4 separate regions of the Homo sapiens genome follow, and regions 1, 2 and 4 are each linked to region 3. Evidence: promoter capture Hi-C in 16 types of primary human blood cells and fetal thymus (Javierre and others, 2016). All regions are on one chromosome and are shown on one strand. The core of a region is centred on a gene start or on the middle of the fragment in contact, and the rest is flanking DNA. Distances in the headings are between cores, read along the strand shown. Region 1 has its middle 180 kb from the start of DCAF4L2. Region 2 has its middle 310 kb from the start of DCAF4L2. Region 3 holds the start of MMP16 (matrix metallopeptidase 16). Region 4 has its middle 280 kb from the start of DCAF4L2.

Region 1 (3,983 bases), core at 1,123-3,622, 630 kb after region 3:
AGAAGCTCAACATATTTCTTTGTGGAATCTTCTATTTGGTTTGCTTCAGCAGAGTGAAAGCATTTTAGCAAATGAATCTCACAGGAAACGGAAAGAGTGGCTTCAAATTTGTCAATATGCTGCAAAACGTCATTTTAATGTTGGGGTCTATTTTTTTCCAGGATATAGAATGTGTCAGTAGCTTAGTCATTTGCTTTGTGAGAGCTGTTGAAAAGCTTTCTCTTTTTTTCAACAATGTCACTTATCCATTGCCAGAGGATGTTGGAGATTTGTAGAACTTTCTAATGCAGTAGTTTTATTGCTTCAGAATCTATGATTTGATACTGCCAACATAAATCACTGAAGCACGTAATTACAGGAATGAAGAGAGAAGAAAAGACAGGAGCACAAAGGGAAAACCAACACAAACATTGCATCATGTTGAATCACAGCATCTCAGAATGCATGGAGTAAACATTTTTATTCTGTGCAGAAATTGCTCCTCATCTCTATATTTCCATTAGATACTTTTTTCCCAAGAAGGATTAACTAATTATAACCTCTGAGAATTTAGATACTATAAAAATGACATGTCTGACATCTTATTTCTTCACATTTTAAGAAGACCTTAAAAGGCTGTCTTAAGAAAAGTATTGCCTGTGTTTCTTAATTATGAAAAATTAAAATTAGGTATTAGTTTTATAAATGATAACCAATTATATAAGTTAATGAGTACTCTATGATTTAAAGCATTTAAAAAAATGCTTTAAAGTTTATTTTGCCCATTAAAATTCCTTACTAGAATCATCATTTATCTAGAAATAATTCCAAATATTCAAAAATGATTTCTAGATTCTAAAGTTAATGACATTTTCATTTCTGATATATTTTAAAATAAATTATTGCCTCTAATACCATTAAGACACTAAGTTCAGAGAATATTTATTTAACATCTACTAAGTATAAAACATTATAATTTCTAGAAGGCATGTGAGAGTACCTTTGGAAGCTCCCCATCTAGTGGTGATAATGGACATATGCAGAGCAACATGCAATATAATACAAACCATAGTAAGCACTGGAATAGAGGTCGTCATAAAATACTATGGGATGTGGATGTCCTTTGAGGGCAGTGTATTAGATCCCAATATGTAAGATACTAGCTCTGGACAGATTCGGAAATGGTCAGTAATTGCATCCAAAATATTTGCATGTTTATTTATGTATTCATATTACTGATTCATTTAACAAACATTTGTGTCAGCATTGTGTTAGAGATATCAAGATTGTGTTATAGAGATATATAAGATGTTCTATTCTGAAATAGCTCAGAGTTTTCTGTGTGATGCAGACAGTATGAAGACGCCTATTATGTGATGTTAACATTATTGACAGTCACAGAATTAGACGTGAAAGGTGGGGAAAAGAACAGTTAATTGTTGTAACCATATGAGACAAAGTACCCTTCTTGGTTCTTGTGTAATTGAACAGCATGTTCACATTCTTAAAAAGTATATACAAACATCTTCATAAAAATAAATCATCATGATTCACTTACATTTGGTGAAAAAGTGTGTTGAATATGAGACTACATTTTAATGTCTAAATGTGGTCTTATTTCCCAATCTTCACAACTTTAGTTCCTTTGTGAATATTTGCAGCCTTTAAATGTTGACTAAACAGAGTGTGGTTAGGTAAAATAGCAAGGGCTAACTAATGCCATCTTCTATTTTATCCTCCGGTTCTTTCAAACACCATTCTCTCTCTCTCTCTCTCTCTCTCTCTCTCTCTCTCTCTCTCTCTCACACACACACACACACACACACACACAAAGACACACATCAGAAAAAAAAAAAAGAAAATCAAAGACCTATCAGAGGGTCATGGAAATCTAGGAATTCCAGAACGTTGTCCTGTGTTCTGGACAGGACAAATAAACTCAGAGAGGAGGCAGTGTTAGAGGAAAACAGTAACTTTTTTTTCTGTCTCTGGTGTTTTCACTTTTTGGGCTCTACCCTGTTGCAGCTTATGAGCCTCAATTATATAGGCATTTTCACTGTGTTGCAATATACACGTTCTTTAAAACCTTGTATGCTACAAAATTACATACTAAAAATGATAAAACTTGAGGGAAAAAAAAGTTAAAAACAGACAACTCAGAATCTATGGAGTGTTGTAACCAGAGCCCCAATGAACATAATACTAACCCCAATAAAAATACTAGCACAGTTAAGAAGACATTTTTAATTTCTTAAAAATAAATAATTATAACAATAAGGCAGGACTGTGTCTTGAAAAAAAAGCGACAGTAGCTCATTGGAATGAAGGGTAAGGAAGAGTTGAAGCTGCTGAGTTATAGAAACAGAGAAAAAAAACCTTCCAAATTGACCACCATACAATAAAAATTCCCTGGACAGAGCACCTGACTGAATTGAACCAAGAAGATTGGAGGTGAATGGGCATCTGGGGACATATTGTACATTCATGACTTGTTATGTTCAACTCGATTTGAATATTTTCTGTTCAATTGCTGTTATTTATGGGACAAAATCCTAACTGGAAAAAATAATACATTTGAACCAATGCAACTTCAGCTTTAATTAAGATTAATTTGACTATTCATCTCAGATTGATCAGGGCATGTGAGCTGATTTGCAATCAAAAACTGTTGTACCAGGAAGTCTACTATTGCACTATTTCTCTTGCGTGGACATCTAGGTTACACAGACCCTTTTCACTTTGCTTTTTACAGGTCTTGATAGATCTTCAATATTTCCTAGCAATTTGATCCTGCCACTTCTTGTCCACTTCCTTTTTGGAGATATTGACCTTTGTAAGTGAGATTGTGGTCTGTGTTTAAATCAGATGAACTCTTTAGAAACTGGGTTGTAAGCCCTTTCTTAAGGCTGGTAATTCTATTTCACTTAAGTCAAAAAATGAAAGATGCTGGTGGTTGTGGAGAAAAATGAACAATTATTCACTCTTGGTGGGAATGTAAATTAGTTCAGCCATTGTGAAAGACAGTGTGATAATTCCTCAAAGACCTAAAGGCAGAGATACCATTTCACCCAGCAATCCCATTACTGGGTATATACCCAAAGGAATATAAATCATTCTATCATAAAGACACATGCATGTATATTTTCATTATAGCATTCACAATAGCAAAGACATGGAATCAGCCTAAATGCCCATCAATAATAGACTGGATAGAGCAAATATGGTACTTATAGACCATGGAATACTATGCAATCATAAAAAAGAACAGGATCATGTCCTTTGCAGGAACATGGGTGGAGCTGGAGGCCATTATCCATAGCAAACTAACATAGAAACAGAAAACCAAATATGGTATGTTCTCACTTATAAGTGAGAGCTAAATGATGAGAACACATGAACTCATAAAAGGGAACAACACACACTTACCTGAGGGTGGAGTGTGGGAGGAGGGAGAGAATCAGGAAAGATAACTAACGGGTACTAGGCTTAATAAGTGGGTGACGAAATGATCTGTACAAAAAACTTCCATGACACAAGTTTACTTATGTAACAAACCTGCACTTGTACTTCTGAACTTAATAAAAGTAAAAAATAAAGAAAAGCAAGGGGAGATTTCTTTCCCCTTCCTCCCCAAGGAATGAAGATTAGTATGTTTAACATTTTTCATAGCATAAAAAAAATCAGAGTATTAGTAAGCCTACAGAGTCATCGAAATTACAGTCTCCTGATTTTAGGTTGCGATTTGTCAGGAAAACTTTCTGATTTTGGAATCAATATTTGCCATTAAGTAAACACAATATGTTTTGGTTCTGGTATACCCATGATCCTGTGCCTAATTTTGTGTCAGGAACTTTTATAGTCAAAGGGTCAGGAAATTGAGTTGTGGAGGAATAATTTTGGAGAATATTAAGGACCATGGCAATTATCAACCAAATGATTGCAAGAGATAAAGAAATGCAGTTTAACTCAATGACCTAGGTATTTTTGGAGATAATGAAGTGTTT
Region 2 (4,626 bases), core at 1,548-4,047, 760 kb after region 3:
TGACTTTCAGTAAGATGAATGTCCTAAATAGCCTTCTGATTTGAGAAGGGCTCTGCTTCACAACTTGAGATGAGAGAAAAAGAGACAATGCATGTGTCCTTATTTATGAGTTTCTATAAAAATCATTATTCTTAATATCAGCACATAAACACCATACCTCTGGATTCAGTGTCTTTACAACCACAACTTGGATCAATCTTTCAGCTTTAAACAAAATGTGAACATTTTTGAAGATGTATTATTGATATGAGAAACCACAAAGTGAACTAGCAGTGAGCTAGCCCACAGTTTTTACCCAGTTATTAGAGTAATTATTAAAGAGCTGCCAAATCAATTAACAGGTGTTACTAATCTGCCTCATGCAAAATTAGCTCTGAGAATATTAGCCCTTTGAAGATTTCTTAAAACACAGCTGCCATATTCTGATCTAGCTAATTTTATATCTAAAAATAAATTGTGTATGCCTTTAATATTTATTCATAATTAAAAAATGGAAAATACATAAAAGTAGTGGAAGACTTAAAATAATATTCAGTGATGAATTTATAAATCTAATGTGAGTAATGTGAGTTTCAGAATATGACATGAATATCTCTTTTTGTCATTTTAGGGCTCACAATACATTTTATAATAAGGCATTTCTAACTTTTCTTTAAAATATCAGCAAATGGCCCGGCATTTCCTTAGACATACTTCACCAGTATATTCTTATAGGTTGGTTGCAATGCTTAAAAAATAATTTCATGGAAAATACATGTAAACTGAGTTCCTAACTTGTGTCACTGATAAAAAGCTATCAGATGATGTATTTAAAAAGACAATTCTAACTTGATAATGTATGGTCAGTCAAGATATAGCCCAAAGTTTGGAATATAGTAAAACCTAATAAATAAAAGTTTTTTTTTTTAAATTTAGAATGTGAATTCGAATTGTTGCAGAATGTCAAAGGAGAACTCTTCCTGCTGTCTCAGAATTTCAGCTGGAGCTACAGAGATCAAAGAGAGGTTGTTAAATACCCACTAATTTGAAAGCGAGTTGACAGGCCAGCTGTGCAGAACATGCTAAGGGGTAACCCCAAAAGACAGATAAGCCTTTGTCTATGACGTGCCTCAAGCCAATACAAGGAGAAAAAAGAAGAGCAATAAAGGAAAGACCATGAGGATGGGTTTCTGTGAGAAGAGCTGTAGATTTTTCCTTTCTTCTCCATACCTTGAGCCAAGTTGGGAGGTTGTAAAAATCCTCTGACAGAGCTTGGGTGTGCTTCCTGCCAGGAGGAAGACTAACCTGGAACAAGCGGGTGGGGAGAGACCTTCAGAGAATTTGGACTCCCTACAGTCGGGGGCACAGGGTTTTGTGTTGACTTGCACTTGTAGAAGTCCGATGCCAGCCGGGCGCGGTGGCTCACGCCTGTAATCCTAGCACTTTGGGAGGCTGAGGCGGGTGGATCACGAGGTCAGGAGATCGAGACCATTCTGGCTAACACTGTGAAACCCCGTCTCTACTAAAAAAAAAATGCAAATTAGCCAGGTGTGGTGGCGGCGCCTGTAGTCCCAGTTACTCGGGAGGCTGAGGCAGGAGAATGGCGTGAACCCGGGAAGCGGAGCTTGTAGTGAGCCGAGATTGCACCACTGCACTCCAGCCTGGGCGACAGAGCGAGACTCTGTCAAAAAAAAAAAAAGAAAAAAGAAAAAAAAGAAAGAAAGAAGGAAAGAAAAAATTCCGATGCCAATAGGCTGGGCTGCCTGTAGTGGGCCTTATAGAAGGAAGAGCCAAGAGGCTTTTGATGGAAGTGAATTCTATTTTTGCTCATCCCAAACCAAGGGTACTATTTCCAGAGGTCTCTTGGAACTCTAGAAGCTATCTGGCCTTCGATTGTTTGGAAAATGATCCCACCCCAAAGGGCTTCCTGCTGAGGAAAGATGAATCTGGTTGAAAGAGGCTGGTCTGTACTGTCGGATGCAGAAGGAAAGGCAAAGGATGGAAGGAGCAAAGCTTTTAAGCTGCCAGTAAGAGACTGTATTATCACCACAGGCAAGAGGAGTGCTGAGTAAGGTCTGCAGCAAGAGGTGCGGTTGGATTTCTGAGGAGCCCACCGTACTCCAAGGAGCAGAAGAACTGGCCCTGTGGCATCAGCTGCACCATTTCAGATTATAACATTCCAGTCTAACATTCCATTTGATTCTTTGTTCTCTTTCCCAGCTTCAAGCTTGAAGAGCTGGAGACAGCAGAGAGAGTGGAAGAGTGGGAGGAACAGGAGATCAGTAAAGTAGATAAACAGGAAAGAAAGAAACCCTACTTCTTTCTCCAGTGCAGACTTCTGAGACTGATCAGCCTCTATGTGGGGCTACAAAAATTGTAGGCTTTAACAGTTGAATATGAAACTATTTATTAAACTTCAAGGTGAAGATAAAAGATATGGGAACCTCATAAGCTTTCATGCAGAGAGGGATGAATTGACAAAGTGGTTTTAATAGGATAGCAGGGAGGGGGGAAGGAAACAGCTGCTTTCTATTTGTACTGACTCCCTCATTAAAGTCACTGCATTACATTCATCAGAATTAGGGATATTTGGAATGAAAGTAATAACTCCAATTTTATTTCTTCAAATGTGAATTTATATGTTAGTTTGGGTTCCTCCAAAACAAGCTGAGATAAAGATTAAGATGCAATTTATTTTGGGTGTGATTCTCAAAAACAGCAGCAGAGGAATGTGGAATGAAGGCAGCTAACAAAGAATTCATTTTAAAGCAAGTTATATGGTTGGTTAGTAGAGCTCAACACCACTGGAAGAACTCTGGAAGTCAGGATAGGGCACATGCTTCAGAGTTATCCCAATGAAGACAAAAGAGAACTGTGATGTTCCTAAATCAACTGCTGTTAGTCTTTGTTAGAGATCTACACTTGGAGAGGCATTCATTCTCTGGCACTTCTAGACTGCAATATAGATGGCAAGAAGACACTGCCAGCAAGAATAGCTCTCAGGCAATATATATGCATGCTGGCAAGAGCTGCACTGCAATAGGGCAAGAAAATGTAAACAGGGAACTGACAAAATCAAGTATGTACCATGGATCATATATTAAGATGGGAGAGTAAAACATAGCTCCATCTTTTCTATTGGGGAATTTTAAGAATAGACGTAAGTTCTCTCTTGGGAAGCTTTATGTGTAATGTGTCTGAAGCAAAGAATATTGAACAAGTCCTGTGCGTTTCTATCAGAGCTATTACATATAGTTATAAAAAGGAGACATTTTTATTTGTACTAGAGGTCAGACTTCTCAAGTTTTAAAGTTTAGAAATGTTTTAAAGGAACAAAAGCCCCATTTTGAATAAGAATAGAATTTTCTCTGATACTTAAAGACCAGTAGGAGTTAACTCAGGTCTTTCTAATTGTTGTATATGTGATAAAAAAGAAGCTAATGCACTATTCAAAGTTTAAACATTATATAATGCTCACTGACACTGTTTTTAAGCAATTATTTACATAACAACTACTTAAGATAATCTATGGAATAATTTTATATTCAAGAAATGAACATATTTAGGAAACATATTAACATTCAGTAATTGTTTATTAATTTCTATCAGGTGTTCTTATATACTAGACACAAGCCATGCAGCAGGGCATAAGGCAGGAGGCAGGATTCTTGCTCTCTAGTGGGGAAGTTCAATATAAAAGGGAAGAAAATAAATGACCTAATTTCACACAGTCACATAATAAATATATAATTACAAACTGAAAATGCTACAGAGGAAAAATGGAGTATACTTGGGAAGTTTAAGTTTTAAGATGGATTTTAATTTTTCATATAACTTTCTCTTTTTTTGAATTCTCCCACATATCATGTTAATATGACAAAATTGACACATACTCAAGCTCATGGCTGAAAGTATATTTGAAAAGTCAAATACATAGAAACAGAAAGTAGAATTTTGGTTACTAGGCACAGGGAAGGGGAGGAAATGGGGAGATAAAGGCCAAAGGGTACAAACATGCAATTTGTGGACTACGAGGACTGTAGTTAATAATACTGTTTACTGAAAATTTGCTAAGAGAGTAGATTTTAGGGGCTTTTACTATAAAATAGGTAACTATGGTAATATATAAGTTAATTTGCTTGACTGTAGCAATTATTTCACTATGTATATCAAAACATCATGTTATATACCCCAAGTATAGACAATAAAATTAAAAACAGCACATGTCAACAGAATTGAGCAGTGTGAAAAATCAGATTACCTTTTAGAAAGAACACTTGTACAGCATTCAGAATGACTAAAATTAAAAAAAATAGCAACAACACAAATGCTGGTGAGGATGTAGAGAAACTGGATCACTCATGCATTGCTGGTGGGAATGCGAAATTGTTCAGCCATTCTGGAAAAGTAGTTTGCTTGTTTCTTAAAGAAAACTCAACATGCAACTACTATATGATTCAACAATTATACTCGAGGGTATGTAACCCAGGGAAACAAAAACTTATGTTCTCACAAAACCTGCATATAAATGTTTGCAGTAGATTTAGTAGATTTGCTAGTCATGTCTAAAACTGGAAACAACCCAGATGTTTTTCAGAGTGAATGGTTAAACACATATGGTCCTACCATATCACGGAATACTACTCA
Region 3 (4,151 bases), core at 1,182-3,681:
CATCACCATTTAGCACTGTTTTCTCATGAACGTCTTTGGTAAATAATTTTTACCTCCTCCTCTTCAATAGTATCTCAAAGACTAGGAACTGAGTTTAAACATTTTTTTTGTATCATTTTCCCTCTCTAATTTTGCACTTTACTAGATATAATGCACACATAAAAATCATTCTTGATTTATTGACAAATACTTCACTACATTTCGTTACCTTATATTGGCACAGAACACCATATAAATTCTATATAATGACATTACTTTCATGTTGCCTTCTAGCTGTTTCTTTTATAAAAAATCATCTCAACCTATGGATTATAAAATTGCTAAGAGCAGGAATGAATTTCCATTTGGAAAGTCACTGGAGTATAGCAGGAAAATCACTGAACTGGGAGTCAGGAAACAAAAGTCTGAACTCTGCCACTTGTATGGTTTGCTGGAACGTTATATTTTATTGCTATCATTTACTTCATCTGTAAAATAAAAACAAAATCCTCAGAGATGGTGTGAGAATTAAATGAGATACTATGTCTGGAAACATTCTGAATATTCTAATGTACTATACAATATAAGACATTGCTTTTTATTACATCTTCAAAATTATTTTGTGGGCAGCACATGCTGGGCACAAGGCAGACTGTCAGGAAGGTCTCCCTGAGAACTTCTTGGGTCTTGGGTCAAGTTGGGTGGGCATTTCTTACATTTTTACAGCAACAGCTGCAAAGTCCCATTCCTCAGCCTTTTTTTCTTTTATTGGATAAAAGTTATTGCAGTCTAATACAATTTTTGGCAAACCATTCTCAGAATTTTCCATCTGCTTACCACATAGGACCTCTTGTAGTCCTGCTTCTTGCCTTTCCAACTCACCCATGAAATTTGCCTTGTCAATTCTCTCTTCCACCTCACCGAGGTAGCTGTCATACCTGGAACACTCTTTATTCTTAACCTCGCCTGCTTTTCTTTCCCGTGGGCTCCTCTTCCCCTCTGCTGGCTGCCAAGGAGAAGCACATTTACTGGCATTAGCCCCCAAACAGATGCTTGCCTCGCTCCCTTCCCCCTTCCTCTTTCAGCCAAACCATCACTTGCCAAGGGCTGGTGGTTGCTGCCCCCCCTGTCCACTGCCTCGCACTGCTACAGCTCCAGTCCTTTCTGGCAGCCTCCTCTGAAGTTCCCTGCCCGCGTTCGCCCGTGCTTCTTGCCAGCCGCCTCCCCCTCTTGCCTGCAGCTCTCCTAGCTCCCGCCAGCCTCTCCCCCGCTCGGTCTGCGAGCAGCCTCTTCCTCCCGCCCTTGCCAGCTGCTTTACTCGCCTTTCCTCAGGCTGCTTCTTCTCCTTCTTTCCCCAACCCTTCCCCTGGCTCCCGCAGCCGGTTTCTTTCCAGCGCCCCCATCCCTCTCATCGGATGTTTTGTTAACACCCAGGACCATCTCTCCCGGGTCCCACTGTGCGCGTGTGTCCACCGTTCACTTGGAAAGTGAGCGTTTTCATCCCGCTTCTGTATTTGTCTAGTCCGCCACCAAAACCCTGTGCCTACTCCTCAAGCCTGGAAGGCGGAATGTAGCTATGGTAGAGGGGATTCAGGAAGACACCAGGCCACAGGCTCGGGACCCCAACAAAGTTTTGGACGTTCGGGATTTGCTATCTCAGTCTTCCCAAACTTGGTCAGCCCCGGCCACCGACCCGAGCCACCCAGGGGCGCTCAGTGACCAGGCGCTCCTCTGATTCCCAGCGCCCCTATTCTTCCAGGGCCGCTTCCTCAGGAATGCCGACCGCTCTCCAGGACCAGGGTTGGGCCGCTCCCCAGGCCCCACTAGGGTCCGCAGCCTGAGCCCCACCCAGCTCATGGCTGGAGAGGGGCGCACTCGTTTTTAGATGCGAGGCGGCAGGGTGGGCGGGAAGAAAGAATGGAGCCGCCCAAGTTCCTGGGTGCCTGCCTCGGGGATGCGGGATGGGAGATACTGTCGAAGAGCTGTGCTCAAACCAGGGCCCTTGTCGCGGGCTGGATACCTCCGGTGCGCCCTACCGTAGTGGGGAATCCTTTATGAGCCGTCTCCTTTAAGAAGCGCGCGTGCGTGTGTGTCGGGCTGTGTGTATGCGCGCGTGTGTGTGTGTGTGTCGCGGTGTGTCTCTGTGTGTGTGTGTGTGTGTGTGTGTGTGCGCGCGCGCGCGCGCGCCAAGGGCCCCGAGAGCCAGGCAGACCCCGGGAAGGAGGAGTTATGTAGATTACGGATGAACATTCTGGAGGGGAGCGAGGAGAGGAGGGAAGGAGAAGCAGAGGCGAGAGAGTGAGGAGCGGCGGAGGCCCTTCCCGCAGGAGCTGGGGGCGGCGGCGGCGGCGGAGGAGGAGGAGGAGTAGGCAGTGCAGGAGGAGGACGCACGGGCTGGAGGCGGCGGCGGCGGCGGCGGCTGCTGCTGCTGCGGCTGCGACTAGGCTCTTTGAGCCGGAACCGCCGGTGAACTTAGGCGCCACGTTCCCGGTGACTGACCCCGGAGGATGGTGAACAGGAACTACTGCTGACCCTGTCTTCGCCGCTGCCTCTCGGGGGCTGCCGAGCGCGGGGCCCCTGTCTCCTCCCCTTGCCCGGCTGTGGGTGAACCTGCAGGCTCCTTACCCACCCGGAGGACTTTTTTTTGAAAGGAAACGAGGGAGGGAGGGAGAGGGAGAGAGGGAGAAAACGAAGGGGAGCTCGTCCATCCATTGAAGCACAGTTCACTATGATCTTACTCACATTCAGCACTGGAAGACGGTTGGATTTCGTGCATCATTCGGGGGTGTTTTTCTTGCAAACCTTGCTTTGGATTTTATGTGCTACAGTCTGCGGAACGGAGCAGTATTTCAATGTGGAGGTAAGAGTGCGAGGGCTTTCTTCCTCCCCCCGCTGCCTGGGCTGCTCCCTGAAACATTTCCTTCACTCCTGGGATCCTTGTAGCTCAGAGCAGCCTGGGTCCCAGCACGTTGTTTCCCTTCCAGCTGTGGAGACCCTGGTTCAGTTTAAGGGTGTTTTAGGTGACGGATGCGTGTGAGACCCAGAATCCGTTATCCCCGGCAGCACAAAGCACGATGCTGCGCGCTCAAAGACACAATTGTAGCCGGTCCATGCTTTTCACCCAGGGAAGAGAAGTCCTACATATAGCAACCGTGTAGCTAAATAAGGCAGCTTGAGTTTATGATGGATAAACAGCTCGGGGAAGACAGAATTAATTCCCTGGCATCATGTGCTGCCTAGGTATTGTTCCTGAAATCTTTCTCCCAGTGTTTGGTGCCTAACAAAGGAGGTTAAAAATCAAAGAATCTAGAGGAGAGCGTGGGAACACTAGATGTGTTTAATAACATTACTTTGTGATAAAACACTTGAGAATCTTTTTTTTTTTCATTTAGACATAACTTAATACACTGTAACTAGATCTGGCTACACAGAGGACATGAAATCCATCTCTTTTTAAGTGTCTTCTTTCCCCCTCCCCCGCCAATTGAAAATAAACGTGGCCCAATGTAATAGTTTTGAGGTGTGTTTTTAATTTGATTTCACACTCTCGTGGCAAAACGGGGAGGTTTTAGACTGTCATTTGCTTTACTTTGATAGCTTTGGGAACAGACGGCACAAAGCAAAAGGGAACTTAAGGATAGGGACTTGTCAGACCTCTGCCAAAGTACTCTTCCTGTCATCAAGTCAGCACTGAAGCCAGTAATGTGCAATAAATCAATGAAAGCGTGTATACACCTGGGCTGTAACACAACTTTATCACATATACGGTGGGATACAAAGCCAGTAAGAGGGTCTTAGTAACATTTACTTCTTTTGATTAGATCTGATGTCCTCTGAACTCTCAAACGAATTATGAATAATTTTTTAAGGAATAATGTGATTTTTTTTCTTATATTGTTGATATTATGAAGCTTATTGTCATTTTGCTGGGAGTGTGTGTTTACACAATAGCAAGACCTGTTGCACAGTATTTGAACATGCTTCATGTAACCAATTGATACACAGAGTGTGCATAATAAATGCCATGTGTAAAGGCATATTCTGAATATAACTGTGTTTATAGAAACTGTTCTTAGGACTTCATGTAATAAGTCATGGTTAGTACAAAAAAAGTATTTGAAAAAGTAAGAGCTATTATCAAGAGTTAAAGACCTTCACAGATATTAAGTATG
Region 4 (4,275 bases), core at 845-3,344, 740 kb after region 3:
AAATGAATTATAAGCATTCCACATAGGATGAGTTTTAATAAGATGCCCATTTCTTGCATCAAGTTTAAATAAGAGAAAATAAATCTTATAATATTTTCTAATTCCCTGTGCCTCAAGGAATATTCATATGTGATTTCATTTTACCTAATGCCTCACAAAATATAATTGAATGTTTTCTTAATTTTAGTCTGTGTCTAAAATGAAATTTATTTTTAACACCTACTGTGTGAGAGTATTTGTAAAATAAACTGTAGACATAGGCTAATAATTTAGTAAGGCCAGAGAAGGAGGAAAGCAGCTAGACAGAGTGGAAATGTGATGGTGCCTCCTGAGAGAGTTGTATCAAGAAAGTGAGTGGGCCATTGCATTAATGCAGCAAGTTTACAAGTACTTGTCCTTGCGTCTCAAAGGCAGGGATTGACGATTCATCTTTATAGTCTCACCTCCTAGCGGAATGGTTCAAAGGGAGTAAGTAGTCACAAATTCATGCTGAGCATATGTATATACAATTAGTTGAAAACTAAGTAAGTAATAAGCTTCTGCTTTTCATATATATATATATTTTTTTATTTAATGGACTAGTAAACTTTCAACAAACATTTCCATTTTATGCCTGTTGTCCCAGTATGGGGTTAACTATTTCCTCTTTATCTCTCAAAAGTGTCCTCATTGGGTAATATATTGTCCATGATTTCAAGCCTATCCAGTTACAGGAAGTAAGGCACAAAAAACTTTTCTGATAAACCCTGAGGTTTGCCATAAAGTTGTCTTACCACAATGTAAAATCTGAGGATACACTGATGTCATAAAGCAGAGGGATGACATATTATATTCATCTTTTAAAAATTAGTTCTGCAGGCAGCGCGGAAAATCAATTGCAGTAAGGAGAAAGTCATGGTTGGATGCTCGCTTTTTAAAATTACTATCTCACAAAAAGTTTTACATGTGTTGAAAACTTTTTTTGCATATAGCATTGTAATTTTGGATACTTTTATTAGACAAAGGAACATTGATTCTAATTATTTCTCATTTTTGGCTCATCACATAGAATTAATTTTATAGAAGCTAACTGAGGAGAGAAAAACACGATAAAATTTTTGCAAGAAAGCAGTCATCATTTCAGTTCTCTTAATACAAGTAAATTTTTCAGTGATGATTTTACAAGCTGAGGAACTGACAAAGTCAGATTTTAATCATTTTTATAGAAAAGTTTAATTAGTTAAATTCTAAAATTATTTCAGATCATTTTCGTCTAGGACAATAGAACATTTATTTGCAAATAAGAAGCTACATGCAAATAGACAGTCTACTTCCTGTGAAATGAAATCACATTAAATTGTGCAGCCAAAATTATTTATTCCATGTACATATGTAGACAAAAGACAAATGAGGAAGAAATACTAGATAACTATAGGTAAGGACTGAATCTTCCAAAACGTGGAATATTAATTATTCATAATATTTATGCAGGTAATATATATATGGCAGGTCTATGTACATTGCAGTCACCATTTTAAATCTCATTATAAAATATGGCTCAAAAGAAACTAAGCATACAGGCTTCCAGTTTGAATCACCCAGAAGGAAAATTTGGAACATATGTTTAGAAACTTTAAATAATCCACATACTTCCATAAAACTTTTTAAAGTTTACAGCAATGGCTACATTACATCTTTGTAATTAGGCATCATGGGAGAAAACATTTTTCAAATATATCACATTATAATTTGTCCTTTATAGGAAGGACTGAACAGCAGACTGTAAATCCTTCTCTTGCCTCTTAGAGCCTAAACAGTTGGGTCAGGAGACCCAGGGGGTACCTTCACAAAATGTTTCTATCTCAAGGCTATTATCCTGTACAAAGTAGATGAAAATGGGAATGTTGTGATCTGCTTTTTTTCCCCTCAGAAGATTTCAGCATGAAACCAAGGGCATGTTTAACTCAATGAAGAAAGGAAGCCAGCCTATAGTACCGTAATGTACATTAGCGCAAAATTTCACTCTGAGGTGTAATTTTAATTTAAGTTTAATGGCCCCACAATGTATTCTTCTGTCCCTGCTGTGCATAATCGTATTGGAAAAGAACATGTACATTGTACTGTCTGATTTGGACATATCTTAGATTAGGAGAATTATGTGGCTGCCTGATCTGCAGCAAAATTAAGTGCAAAACTTAGAGTGTTAGTATTCTTCCTGGATAGGGTCATATATAACAAGCTACTATTTATTCTCCCCTTTCTTCTTAAGTGTCTGAATATGGATAATTTTTCCTCTCAGGGATTCAATGGATCACAAAAAGGCTCTCTTTTTTTGTCTTTGTAATACAAACAGATAAACAATTTAAGCAAACAAGATGGAATAAAACAAAAAAAAAACCCTACAAATTATTTCAAGAGATGTTTCAAAATGTTACTCATTAAACAAACATCCTTTGAACATAAACTGCATCCAGCTCCATACTAGCTGCAAAAATCATTTCTAGTAATTCCCCAAAAATAATTTGTTTATGTGAGTTCTCAGTTGGATGACTGGGTAGGCTTATATTTCAAAAGATTTCCCATTTCTTTGATACTGGTACCTTCTCAGTCTTTGCAACTAAGACCCTGCTCACCTTTCAACTAAATCTTTGGTACTTTAGTTGCAAGTGCAATTTTAGTCTAATTCAAGTCAACTGAAATTTTGTGACTGTACGTATAAGTAATTTCGTTTCTGGTTTCTAGGAGGGTAATAAAAAATGTTAGTTTTCTTATCTAATGATTTTGCCACTGTGGTCTATAAGAAGAGGGAAAAGAAATACCAGGAGTCTCAGAATGAAATCTAAGAGTCACTCCAAAGTTTCTCATATTCCCTGGGCTCATGGAACTTGAGTATGAGACTAGGTTCTAAAAGACAAGCCTTTGTGTTTCACAGCACATGCATGCGTATAGCAGGAATCACAACCTCAGATGCCCATGAAGACCAAGTAAGTAACCTGTAAATGAGTGGAAAGGAGTGGGAAGGGTTGTGGATCACATGTGATGTGCCTGGAAAGTGGCTACTACTCCTTGTCTCCATGACATTGTGGCTTTGATAGATTGAATAATGGCCCCTAAAGATGACATATCCTAATTCCCAGAACCTGTGAATATATTGTATGACACGGCAAAGGAGAATTATAGTAGTAGATGGAAATAAGGTTAGCAATCAACTAATTTTAAAATAAAGATGTTATCCTGTATTATCTAGGTGAGCCCAACATAAATATAAGGGCTCTTAAATGTGGAAAAGGAAGGCAGAAGTGTCAGTGTCACAATGATGCAATGTAAGCGAGACTCCAGAGCCTATGGTTGGCTTTGAAGGTGGAAAGAGAAAGGAATGCAAGCAGTCTCTAGAAGCTGGAAGAAAACAAGAAATGGGCTTCTTCCCTGGTGCCTACAGAACAGAATGAAGCCTGCAATACCTTATGGGTCTCCATTGAGAACCATTCAGACTTCCAACCTGCAGAAATGTAGGATAATACATTGTATTCTGCTATGGCACTGAATTTGTGGTAATGTTATGACAGTAACATAAATTTAATACAGTAGTCATGTGCACCCTGGTGTTGATCTTAATAGATCTTCCAGTTTTTCAAAAGAAGGCTGAGGTACAGATCCTCTTATGAAAGCTTTCATTTTAAAAAACTTGACAGTTAATTCAAACGTTATCATTAGTTTTTAAGCTGTGTAGGGTAAATGAGAGAAGCTGTGTGTTGTTAGTAATTCCTGATGCATATAATTGTATATCTCTTGGTGGTGGTGGTAGTAGTAGTAGTAGTAGTAGTAGTAGTAGTAGCAGTAGTGTGTGTACCCCAAAATCACTAAGCCATGGGAAAAGTCGAGCTGGGAGCCTGCCTTCCATTTTAATTCCTAAATAAGACAGCTAAAAAGGTAAAAGAGTTACATAACCTCCCTCACAATTTGCCCACAAGGAATTTCCATCTGGACCTCACGATCTTTACCTTAAAACACTTCTGTTGAATTTCACCATGGCAATGTAAACTAATAGCTTGTCATCACAGGTGTGGGATAGAAAGTCATCCCTCTGCTCGCTTGAGACAAATGCATATCTGATAGCTTCCTCTGCCCTGTTGTTTATGTAAAAATACTGGTTCATTGAGCCAGACTCAATTGTGTATTCAGGGAAAAGCTGATCAAGGACTCAAAATAATGCAATCTTTTGTCTCTTATCTACCTATGACTTGGAAGCCCTGCTTCGAGTTGTCCCACCTTACTGGACTGAACCAATATACATTT

The links. Contacts are between HindIII fragments. The CHiCAGO score rates a contact against its expected background, and 5 or more counts as called.
Region 1: a contact is called between a fragment that was not itself captured here and the fragment with the promoter of MMP16 in region 3, in 1 of 17 cell types (endothelial precursors). The highest score is 6.4, in endothelial precursors.
Region 2: a contact is called between a fragment that was not itself captured here and the fragment with the promoter of MMP16 in region 3, in 2 of 17 cell types (megakaryocytes and M1 macrophages). The highest score is 6.7, in megakaryocytes.
Region 4: a contact is called between a fragment that was not itself captured here and the fragment with the promoter of MMP16 in region 3, in 3 of 17 cell types (M0 macrophages, erythroblasts and M2 macrophages). The highest score is 5.7, in M0 macrophages.

Annotation. Positions count from the first base shown.
Region 1 is chr8:87,692,407-87,696,389 of GRCh38, reverse strand. No RefSeq gene overlaps it. Among named protein-coding and RNA genes, the nearest start is that of DCAF4L2, 180 kb to the left of the region's middle. The HindIII fragment of the contact is 4,310 bases long and covers 218-3,983 here.
Region 2 is chr8:87,563,271-87,567,896 of GRCh38, reverse strand. No RefSeq gene overlaps it. Among named protein-coding and RNA genes, the nearest start is that of DCAF4L2, 310 kb to the left of the region's middle. The HindIII fragment of the contact is 728 bases long and covers 2,434-3,161 here.
Region 3 is chr8:88,325,763-88,329,913 of GRCh38, reverse strand. MMP16 (matrix metallopeptidase 16) reads left to right here and starts at 2,431. Exons shown (of 10, transcript NM_005941.5): 1 at 2,431-2,839. The coding sequence starts at 2,708. LOC105375630 (a long non-coding RNA gene) reads right to left here and starts at 2,070. Exons shown (of 8, transcript XR_001745653.3): 1 at 2,016-2,070; 2 at 817-985. The HindIII fragment of the contact is 7,293 bases long and covers 1-3,892 here.
Region 4 is chr8:87,587,787-87,592,061 of GRCh38, reverse strand. No RefSeq gene overlaps it. Among named protein-coding and RNA genes, the nearest start is that of DCAF4L2, 280 kb to the left of the region's middle. The HindIII fragment of the contact is 3,111 bases long and covers 539-3,649 here.